Regions from separate parts of the Homo sapiens genome. Here region 2 is linked to region 1. Evidence: promoter capture Hi-C in human tissues and cell types (Jung and others, 2019). All regions are on one chromosome and are shown on one strand. The core of a region is centred on a gene start or on the middle of the fragment in contact, and the rest is flanking DNA. Distances in the headings are between cores, read along the strand shown.

Region 1 (5,822 bases), core at 1,566-4,065:
GCAGACTGTTACTTATGTAGTTTTAGAGTTACTCATGGTGGGAGGCTAGCCTGGTACCAGTGACTCCATAGTCAAAAGCGGAAGTCCACATGGGTGATAGCTGAGGTGGTTCCCATTTGTTGACTTTCTATGTGAACTGATGGAAAGTATCATCCCCAAAGTGTGCAAAATGGAAGTGAGCAGGGGTGGAGAAGGATAAACAGAAAGAGGAGGGCGCCAGCCCTGAGTGCCTGGATGGCGCTGAGATCATGCGTTGAGAGTGGCAACAATTCAAGGTAGGTGTCGGCCATGCTAGGCAGATGGCATAGGCACAGAGACAGTGGGAAACAGCAGTGAGGAAGACGGTGGGTGAAGTGAGCACTGTGGAAATCAGGCTGGAGAAGCAGGAAGGAAGGATAGACAGGAGGGGGCTCACAGGGGAATAGGGGATTGGAGGGCTTTAGGATTCAGACAAAGGGAGAATGTTAGGAGCTTAGGACATCCTGGGCAGAAAGGACATTTGCATACCCTCTTTCAGAGGTGGAGCTCAAGTTCTGAGTGTGGTCATGGGAGGGTGGCAGAAGTGGCAGAAGTGGAGTGGAGATGGAAGTTCCTAGAGATGAGGAAAAATAAAATCTGAGCGACTGTGAATTTTGATGAAACATCGACCGCCATGTTGAAGATGGCTGGGATGTGGCCAAGTCTTAGCATGACAAGGAACACAGTGAACTCAGTGCTGAAATTCTTAACGAAAGGGACAGGCTGCACAAAGGTCGGCAGATGACAGCAGGGCAGGGACTCCGGACATGGCGCCCTTCCCAGCCTGCATCTCCAAGGAGGATGGTTTTTGCATGAGGGTGAAGACTTGGGGCTCAAAGTCAATGTCCAGCCCCCAGTCTGAGCCCATGTGATGGGGACGTGGCCACCAAGTACAGTTGTGGAGGTTGTGAACAGCTCCACTTTCAACTAGCGATGCCACTCTATTGCAGACGTCCCATCTCGTGTAATGGTTTCCCAACTCTGTGGGCACTCAGTGTCCCTGCGTGGGGGCCTGAGCAGGATTCCAGGGAAGCATGCCTATGACAACACAGGCTTCCGCCAGGGCCAGGAGAGTGAGAGAGGCTGAGAAGTGGTCTCTTTTGCATGGGTCAGGTGGTCGCAGCAGGAATCCTGAAGGGGCTGCAGTGAGCGGTGGGAAGTCGAGTTGATGGGGAGGAAGCAGAGAGGAGAGGTGGGTGGGAATATGAGAGAAAACAATGACTCAGTCACTTATATCATGATGGTGACTAAAGTGACAGGGATGTAGAACAAGGAAACTGACCTTGCCAGAGTTTTCATGGATCGAGTCCCTGTGGTTGCCCAGTGGTGAACAGTCAGCAGAGAGCCTGGAGGTACTTGACCCGGACCCAGAGGAGCCCTGGAGGATGGAGCCTGGAGGACGGGGGCCTGGAGAATGAGGGTCTGGAGGACGAGGGTCTGGAGGAACAGGGGCCTGGAGGACGAGGGTCTGGAGGAAGAGGGCCTGGAGGACAGGGGCCTGAAAGATGGGGGCCTGGAGGATGAGGGTCTGGAGGATGAGGGTCTGGAGGAGCAGGGGCCTGGAGGATGAGGGCCTGGAGGACAAGAGCCTGGAGGACAGGGGCCTGAAAGATGGGGGCCTGGAGGATGGGGCCTGGAGGATGGGGGCCTGGAGGACGGGGGCCTGGAGGATGATGGCCTGAAGGATGAAACCTGGAGGATGGAGCCTGGAGGATGGAGCCTGGAGGATGAGGGCCTAGAGGATGGGGGCCTGGAGGACAGGGGCCTAGAGGATGGAGCCCTGGAGAATGGGGGCCTGGAGGATGGAGCCTGGGGGACGAGGGCCTGGAGGATGGGGGCCTGGAGTATGGGGCCTGCTCTCCAGACCCTGAGGACAGCCCCGTGGTGGACCAAGGATTTTGGGTTTCCTGCGTCTCTGGGCCCCTGACTGCTCAACCATCAGAAACAGACTGGCAACCCCCTGTCATTTCCCTGGCGTGGGGAACTTCGGGTCCCCTCTGTCCTTCCCACCACACTTTTCCCTCTTTCTTTCCGGGTGTCTACTCTCTGGCTTCTGTCTTCTCTGTCAGGTCCACAGAATCCTTCTCCAGCACATCCTACCCCAGGAAGGCCATGGGCTGGGTCCCAGGTGCCATCTTTCAGAAGATGTAGAGCATTCCCATGGAACAAAAATAACCCATTTCAGGGGTTGGCTGAAAATGAACTTATTAAAACCTGCCTGTCACAGGCTACTCCGCTGACCCTGTCAGCCTCATCTCCATGGAGAGCAGCCCCTCCTGCTGAAGATGGGACAAAGGGCATCGTGCTGCGGTTGGGGAGGCTCTAACCACAGCCCTGGGAGCAGTCTCTTACCTCCTCTGAGATGCTTCCCTTCCTCAGGGAGGGGACTTTTCCATGCTATCTGCTGGCCTGTACATTTTCCCCAGTAAACTTGGCCCTAATATTTTCTAAATTCCTGTGGTCCCTGCCCACTCTATCAATAGAAATGCATAGCTTATCCCTTCCTGGGTGTGACCCTGTGTGTGCCCAGCCCCAGACCTGCACGTGGCCGGTTTTCCACGCTGGCAGCCTGGCATGACCCAACTCTCTGTCCAGGGCAGGAAGAGGTATCACCGAGCAGGGAGAGAGTCACCCTGGCCCGGAAGCCTCGCCTGCACAGGGCACAGCTGCCTCTTGCCTCCTCTTCGCCTCCACGGTGGAAGGGCTGGGGCCACGGGGCAGAGAAGAAAGGTTATCTCTGCTTGTTGGACAAACAGAGGGGAGATTATAAAACATACCCGGCAGTGGACACCATGCATTCTGCAAGCCACCCTGGGGTGCAGCTGAGCTAGACATGGGACGGCGAGACGCCCAGCTCCTGGCAGCGCTCCTCGTCCTGGGGCTATGTGCCCTGGCGGGGAGTGAGAAACCCTGTAAGTGAAGGAGAGGGTCTTTTTATGTGCTTTCTTTATTTCTCTTAAAGAAAAAAAAAAAGCACAACCATAAATTAACTTGAGAGGGGGAATGGCTATAAAGGCATCTGGCAATGTGTGTTGTTCACATGGGATTTGCCACTGCTCAGGAGGGTGGCTCCAAGAAGGGCCTCCCTCCTAGGGAAAGGCTGAGTGACGGCAGGTGTCAGCGGGCCCCGTGTCGGGCCAGGAGGGCATTCCCACCAAGGGTCCTTGGAGTCCCAGAGCACTCACCTCTCGCCTGGATCTTGGCCTTGGGTCCATCTGTTCACCCTCCTCTAGGAGGGTTTTGTTTTTGTTTTTTTCCGAGACAGGATCTGGCTTTGCCGCCCAGGCAGGAGTGCAGTGGTGTGATCTTGGCTCACTGCAACCTCTGCCTCCCAGGCTCAAGTGATCCTCCCACCTCAGCCGCCTGAGTAGCTGAAACCACAGTTGTGGACCATCATGCCCGGCCAATTTTTTTTTTTGTATTGTTTGTAGAGATGGGGTTTCGACATGTTGCCCAGGATGGTCTTGAACTCCTGAGCTCAAGCAATCTGCCCGCCTCGGCTTCCTAAAGTGCTGGGATTATAGGTATGAGCCACCATGCCTGGCTTTTTTTTTTTTTTCCTTTTAAACTAATATAACAATTTCAGCAAAGCCCTATCGGCTTCTCAGGAGGAAACCGCATTGCTTAAATATGGGCAAGATAAGACTTTGTGTTTCTCTATGTGGCAACAAGACAGTAGAGGCATCCCCTAGAACCTCTGAGAGAAGGAGCAGTGTGGTCTGGGGTACCAGGGTGGGGCCGACTGAGGGTCTTTCCACAGCCCCCTGCCAGTGCTCCAGGCTGAGCCCCCATAACAGGACGAACTGCGGCTTCCCTGGAATCACCAGTGACCAGTGTTTTGACAATGGATGCTGTTTCGACTCCAGTGTCACTGGGGTCCCCTGGTGTTTCCACCCCCTCCCAAAGCAAGGTAATCTTCCAGGGAATCTTCCTGGGCCAGCAGCTGGCAACCCAGGACCCAGCTTCACAGGCGGAGCCCAGAGCAGGGGCCGGAGGAGGCCCAGTTGCTAGTCTAGGGTTAGCCTGGGTGGGTTAGTCTCGAGCTAGCCCCGGTTGGTTAGTCTGGGGCTAGCCCAGGTTGGTTAGTCTAGAGCTAGCCCAGGTTGGTTAGTCTGGGGCTAGCCCAGGTTGGTTAGTCTGGGGCTAGCCCAGGTTGGTTAGTCTAGGGCTAGTGTAGGCTAGTTAGTCTAAGGCTAGCCCAGGTTGGTTAGTTTGGAGCTAGCGCAGGTTGGTTAGTCTGGGGCTAGTAGCCCAGGTTGGTTAGCCTGGAGCTAGCCCAGGTTGGTTAGTCTAGGGCTAGCGTAGGCTGGTTAGTCTGGGGCTAGCCCAGGTTGGTTAGTCTGGAGCTAGCCCAGGTTGGTTAGTCTGGGGCTAGTAGCCCAGGTTGGTTAGTCTGGGGCTAGCCCAGGTTGGTTAGTCTAGGGCTAGTGTAGGCTAGTTAGTCTAGGGCTAGCCCAGGTTAGTTAGTTTGGAGCTAGCACAGGTTGATTAGTCTGGGGCTAGTAGCCTAGGTTGGTTAGTCTGGAGCTAGCCCAAGTTGGTTAGTCTAGGGCTAGCATAGGCTGGTTAGTCTGGGGCTAGTAGCCTAGGTTTGTTAGTCTGGAGCTAGCCCAGGTTGGTTAGTCTAGGGCTAGCGTAGGCTGGTTAGTCTAGGGCTAGCCCAGGTTGGTTAATCGGAGCTAGCCCAGGTTGGTTAGTCTGGAGCTAGCCCAGGTTGGTTAGTCTGAGGCTAGTAGCCCAGGTTGGTTAGTCTGGGGCTAGCCCAGGTTTGTTAGTCTGGAGCTAGCCCAGGTTGTTTAGTCTGGAGCTAGCCCAGGTTGGTTAGTCTGGGACTAGCCTGGACTGCTAGTCTAGAGGTAGCCTAGAGGACTGCTAGTCTAGAGGTAGTCTAGGGCTAGCCCAGGTTGGTTAGTCTGGGGCTAGCCCATGTTGGTTAGTCTTAGACTAGCCTGGACTGCTAGTCTAGAGGTAGCCCAGGTTGTTTAGTCTGGTACTAGCCTGGACTGTTAGTCTAGAGGTAGCCCAGGTTGGTTAGGTTGGTTAGTCTGGGACTAGTCTGGACTGTTAGTCTAGAGGTAGCCCAGGTTGGTTAGTCTGGGACTAGCCTGGACTGTTAGTCTAGAGGTAGCCCAGATTGGTTAGTCTGGGACTAGTCTGGACTGCTAGTCTAGAGGTAGCCCAGGTTGGTTAGCCTGGGGCCAGCCTGGACTGTTAGTCTAGAGGTAACCCAGGTCAGCCAACAGTGAGATGAAAATTTCCCACCTACCCTGTTTCTACACTGTTAGTTCTTTCAACAGACATGTGTGTGTGGAGCCATCAGTTTTACTTTAGTTGAGAAAAAAATATATATATATATAGTAGGTCTCCTCTAGTTTTTGAAGTGTGACTTCTGAAGAAGCTTCCATGGGGAAATGAAGGTATTTAATAGGACAGCAGTAACATAAGGGCTGACAGCCCTCAAATGTTAGGGAAGGAAGTGAAGCCTTCTAGGGTTCTTTGGGAGTGAGTTTTATGTTAGTGCACGGGATCAGGACCCAAGTTGTAACGCCGACGAGTGCTCAAAGGAAGGTTGTGTGTGTGTCGTGCACCTGTGTGCGTGGAACCAGGCACGTCCTCTGGAGAAGGAGGATTCATCCCCAAGATTGTTGCTGGGAGGCTTGCTGGGCCCCGCAGGGAAACCAGGCAGATGGTGGATTGTTCACGAGCGCCCACTGAATGGCAGTGTCTTTGGGAATCAATACCATGTCCAAACGCTTTCCATCTTACCAAGGTGCCCACAAACCTTTTCTCATCTTGGCCCGGGG
Region 2 (5,822 bases), core at 1,980-4,479, 71 kb before region 1:
GAACAATCGACAGTTTCCTCTTCAAATTAACATGCTCAGAGCAGTGAGGCACAATTCATAGCCCCACATTAGCACAGGAAATATTGGTTGGTTTCCCCTTCCTGAGGGCAAGGCGAGGGCACCCACAGCCTCCCTGCGGCTCGCTCTGCAGACAGTAGGGCTTTGCTATCAACTGATGACATCTGTGAGGTTTACAGAGAGAAACGGAGTGCATTTTGCTAGTCTTTCAAATGAAATACAATCAAGATTATGCTGTGAACATGGGTGACGGAAGGAGAAAGAAAAGAGCTTAGCATTTTCACATTTCCATTTTTCTCTTTGACTTAAGAGAGCCTCTTGACAGTAACTTACACCATGAAACAGATGTGTTTGAATTCTCCCTGGTTCTTAAAAGGACATAGCTGCCATCTGGGGGTTGCATCACTACGTCCCTGTGTTCATTTCCTGGGGCGGCCATAACAAAGTCCCACAGCTGAGCGGCTTCAACGACAGCCACAGATGCCCTCATAGTCCTGGAGGCTGCGAGTCTGAGGTCAAGCCACCATTGAGGCTGGTCTCTCTTGAGGCCTCTCTCCTTGGCTTGTAGACAGGTACTTCTCCTCGTTTCCTCACAGGCTGTCCCTCTGTGTGTGTCTGTGTCCTCATTTCTTCTTATAAGGACACCAGACATATTGGATCAGGGCCCACTCTAATGCCCTCATTTGAACTTAGTCACCTCTTTAAAGACCCTGTCTCCAAATAAGTTCACATTCTGAGGTGTTAGGGGTCAGGACCTCCACATATGAATGTTGGCAGAATGCAATTTAGCCCTTAATTGTACCTTTCTTATGTCTGAGATATTTGCTGTAAACTTGCTCTGAGGTTTTTGAAGTAATCTGCTGTGTCTGTCTTCAGTGTTGGGAAAGTCCTCATCTTGACTGGGGGATGGCACTTATTCTCCCGAGCCCTCACACTCAAGCCCCCCTGTTGTTTGTCCCACAGGGGTGCTCCCCTCTGCTCTCCTGGACAGAGGATTGGAAGCTGCTGTGGTTTGTGAATACGGTCCTCCATCACCAGTCTCTCCAGGCCATCTCTGATCTTCAAAGCAATGGACAAACATTACAGTGTGATTTTGCGGTAGATAAGTCCAAAGAATCCCTGCACCGTCTGGCACGGAGGCTGAGGCTGGGGTCATTATAGTGGTGATGGGTGACTGGTGTGTTAATTGACAAGTACTATTCATCAGAGCTGCAGACTCTTACCTGGAAAGGTGCCCTCTGTGGCGGGCAGGGGGATTCCTCCTGGTGCGCCTGCAGGTCTGTTTCCAGGCACTCTAATGCCAGTGGTTCTGCTGCTTGGATCGTGCAAGTGTGAGTCCTGACCAGGGCTCGTAGGAAGTAATTATTCAACATCTGCACAGCTATCTGTCAGTCCGTGGGTCAGCTGGCCTCTGGACATTGCTGTCTGACCCCATTTTCCACTAATGAATATGTCAGTGATGTGTGGAGACATTCAAGGATCATTTTCCGATTTTGAAAGCTTTAGATGTTTAATAAGGATTTTCAGCAGTTTGAAAAGATTTAGCCAGCACAGTGGAGTCCAACAGCTCCCGTCATCTGCCTCACTGGCCCATAAGCACAGATCACAGCTTGTCAGGGTGTCTTGATGCTCCCCCAGCCACAATGAGGGTGCTTCCAAAGCAGGACCAATCAGACAACCCACAGCACCTAGCCCAGTGCTTATTTCTCTTTCCTTTCATTGCAATTTTTGTTAATACTGATTAATTCTCAAGAGAAAGTTCCTCTGGAAAGAATAGTCCCAGAAATGTCAGGCATAAAAGCTGGAATGGTTATGTTGATGGCAGGTGTCTGATGTATTAATTGTGAAGTGAAAAGTATCATAGCCGCTGACTCATCTTCTGCAGAGTCTTTGTGGTTCCTCTGTGACTGTGAAACTCTCCCATCCCGGGCAGAGAGCGAAGGACATGCTAAATGATGCGGGGCCACAGGGGAGCCCCAACCCTCCTGAAATTGAGATGGTTAGTTAGGGCATAGCCAGCATCTCCTCTCTATTCCTTAAACTGTTGATTGGATCAGGTGGTGAACTGAGCTTGCAAGAAAGCAAGAGCTTCCTTGATTGTACAACGTCACCTGGCCTCCTGGGCCCGAGTCTTCTCACCTCTCAAGCAGGGGAGCTGCCTTCGGTTATCTCTACAATCCCTTGTGGCACCCACATCCTGTGATTTTGATGTGGCCCCTGGACCCACGGACATGTCTATGTCAGCAAATTGTGTTTCTCCTGAACCGCTGGTCTGCACGCATCTGGGATGGCCATGACTGTTGGTTGAATGTGTGTCTGTTTTCTCACTGGATGTGGGAAAGCTCGGAGCTGGGAGCTCACAGCGCACGCCATGGTATGGACAAACCTCAGCCCTGGCTTTGTCTAGCTTTTCCACCTTTACTCTCCCTTTGACCCAGCTTTCTTACATTCTCTTCTTGAAATTTAAAATGGATTAATTTATGTTTTGAGTAAGTAATGCATTTATATGCTTCATACATTTAAACATTATGAAATGGTCGTGTTTGAAAAGACTCCCTCCCATTTCTGTTCCATTCTCCTGGCTCCCACTCCCAACACCCACCGGTAACCATGGTTAGAAGTTTCTAGACACTCTCCCTTCCAGGGAACCTTTAGGCATACACATGTATAGAAATACATATTGTGCACATGTATTTACAGACAGTTATGTGTTTCTCTCCCCTTCCCCCACAAGTATATCATGCCATACACATCGTTCTGCAACTTATTTTTTTCATTTATCAATAAATCTTGCATATTTTTTCAAATCAATATATAAAATTCTCCCTTTTAATTATTTTAAAGCTGCAAATATTTTATTGTATGGATGTGTCATAATTTAATTTATGGACTTATTTTTAAATTTTAATGATCTCTTCTATAGGCAGTTGAGGTCATAGTTGAAAGCCCAAGCGTGGGATTAGGTATAAGACTGGAATCCGGCTTCCTCTGCTCACTTGCTGTGTGAACACAGGCAAGTGAGTTGATCTCTTTGTGTCTCAGTTTCATCAACTATAAAATGGATCAATAAAAGTGCCTATCCAGGGGGTATTGGAGAAGTAAATCAGTTAGTAAGGGAAATGCATGGCACAGAGCCAGGCACAGGGGGTGATGTTAGTGTGCAAAGCTATTGGACATCTCTTAAGCTGCCTTAAAATAGATTTAAGTGGATTAGGAGTCAACACATCAATAAATAAAGACGTGTGACTACGGCTGCATTTTTCATCCCACATTTGCATTTTGTGGTCCTAAGTTCTTATTCATTAGGGTAAGAAGTTAAATGGCCTCAAGAGAAGATGATATGGAATGTCATGTATGCACAGCTGTGGGGCTTTGGCTGGAATCTGCTCTCCTTGAATGTCAAGTGGCTATTATGTTTAGTGGGGGAGCCCAGGGACATAGGTACTGTCCCTGGCTTGTTATACAAATCTCAGTGTATGAATAATTAGCAAAAAGAAATATAATACTTAAAGAAATCAGCCATAGTCACCAAATCTCCTTTTATAAATATTTCAGACAATACTTCCATTATTTTTACTACTATTTCTTGCAAATTCTAATCATTTCACCAAGAGCTTCTATCAGGTACTATTAAACCATCTTTTCTTTTCTTTTTTGGGGGTTTGGATAAAAATGACCAATATGCAATCATTTATTTCAGCTCTTCAAAATACGTTCTTTCTTAATTTACTTAAAATGCTAGTCTTATCCACACAGAGGCTTATCCATATAGCCTCTGACAATTTTTAAGCAGCTTTTAATGACTACTCAAATAAAACGTCACAATTTTCATAGTTTTGCCATGTGCATGAATCTCATTAGGAAGGGTACAGAAAATAATTCCCTGGATGTATAGATGCTGGAAATAGAAGTCCACAGCAAATGTCCAGCACAGATCTGAAAATCTATAGATTGAGTAGATGCTGATACATCTGTGTTCAACTTAATGATTTATTTATTTGTCAGGGTGGTGAGGGGAACCCTAGAGAAGCTGTGGAGCATTTTAGGAGAGAATTAAACAAATGAGTGAAATATAAAATGGTTTTAAGACCTCCTGCCTGGAGACAGAGGGATGGCCACGATGGTGTTTTTCCAGGCTCTCTTCCCCAGCCACACAGCTCTGAAGGTGCCAGGAAGCCCAGAACCACAACATAGGGTTTTTCTGTGTATTTCTGCCCTTCTCCTCCCACTCTCATCATTCAGTTGTTCCAACCATCAGTCTTGACACCTGCAAGAGCTCCACCCCAACAGGCACACCCATGAGGCTGAGCAGCTTTTCTCTTTTTTCACCATGTGTACTCTGACCTCTGCCTGCTCTCTCCACTCTCCTAACTGGAACCTGGGAGAAGAGAGTGAAAAAGCTCACAAGAGCCACCTTAACACTTTGCAATGGCTTTATGGTGTGGCAACTTGGCCAGACTGAACGACAGTTCCTAGACTTCCTTTTTAGCACATGTCTGATCAGGGTGGGCTACAAGAGGCATTCTCATGAGAGCTGGAGGATGGAAGGGAGGCAGTAGCCATCCTAAGCATCACACACAGCCTTCCTAGCTATCCCATCAAATGCTAGTCTAGGTGCTGCTGGAAGGAGATTTTACAAATGTGACTAGAACCCCTAATCAGTTGAGCTTAAATTAATCAAAAGCAAGGTTATTCTGAGCAGGTCTGACTTATGCAGTTGGAAGGCATTTTTTTTTAAAAACTTAGGCTTTCCTCACACTCAGAGACTTCAATAGCAGCTGTGTCTGTGACTGCTCTCCCATCACCCGGGTGGTCCTTCCAACTGCCACATGTGGACAACAAGCTTCAGCTTGCCCATGGGTTTTCAGCCTAAGTAGGCTCCTCCCTTCCTGCCTGTCTGCCCTTGCTTAGCTAGCCCCAGTAATTCCATAAGGCAATTCATTGTAGTAAATCAATATAGATGTGTGTATACATATATACCTTTCCATATATATATGTGTGTGATACATGTGTATATAATATAAAATACTATGTATGTATAGTCAGCCCTTTGTATCTGGAGGTTCTGCATTTGTGGATTCAACCAACTGCAGGCCAAAAATATTCAAAAGATTAATCAATTAAAAAATAGCAATACAATTTAAAAAATACAAATAAAAAACAATACCGTATAACAACTATTTGCATAGTATTTATACTGTATTACATATCACAAGTAATCTAGAGATGATTTAAAGGATACAGGGTGATGTGCATAAGTTGCATGTAAATACTACAGCATTTTATATCGGGGACTCGAGAACATGAGGATTTGGGTATCTGTGGGGGTCCGGGAACCAATCCCTTGCAGATAGCAAGGGACAACTGTACATATACTTATATGTATTATATATTGTATGAAAGTGACTGGTTCTGCATCTCTGGTTAAACTTTTACTAAATTTGGTATCAGGAATGGGGTGCTACTCTAACAAACAGTGGATGTTCTTCAACTTCAGATGGGGTTATGTTCCAACAAACCCATCATAAATTGAAAATGCATTTAATGCACCTAACCTACTGAACATCACAGCTTGGCCTAGCTTACCTTAAACACGCTCAGAACACTTACAGTAGCCTATGATAGGGCGGAATAATCTAACACAAAGCCGATTTTATAATCAAGTGTTGAGTATCTCATGTAATTCGTTGAATGTTGTACTGAAAATGTAGCACAGAATGATTGTATGGGCACTTGAAGTACAGTTTCTATTGAACCCATATCACTTTCGTAACATTATGAAATCCTAAGCCAAACCATTGTAA

What was found. Contacts are between HindIII fragments. The study calls those that stand out against the background at their distance.
Region 2: a fragment that was not itself captured here is called in contact with the fragment with the promoter of TFF2 in region 1 in 9 of the 25 tissues and cell types used here (H1 embryonic stem cells, IMR-90 fibroblasts, adrenal gland and 6 more).

The regions. Positions count from the first base shown.
Region 1 is chr21:42,347,987-42,353,808 of GRCh38, reverse strand. It overlaps TFF2 (trefoil factor 2), which reads left to right and starts at 2,815. Exons shown (of 4, transcript NM_005423.5): 1 at 2,815-2,930; 2 at 3,779-3,928. The coding sequence starts at 2,852. LOC105372815 (a long non-coding RNA gene) reads right to left here and starts at 1,516. Exons shown (of 3, transcript XR_937755.3): 1 at 508-1,516. The HindIII fragment of the contact is 10,226 bases long and covers 1-5,822 here.
Region 2 is chr21:42,419,705-42,425,526 of GRCh38, reverse strand. All of the region lies in intron 7 of UBASH3A (ubiquitin associated and SH3 domain containing A), which reads right to left. Among named protein-coding and RNA genes, the nearest start is that of UBASH3A, 19 kb to the right of the region's middle. RefSeq lists an enhancer at 2,081-2,350. The HindIII fragment of the contact is 5,669 bases long and covers 395-5,822 here.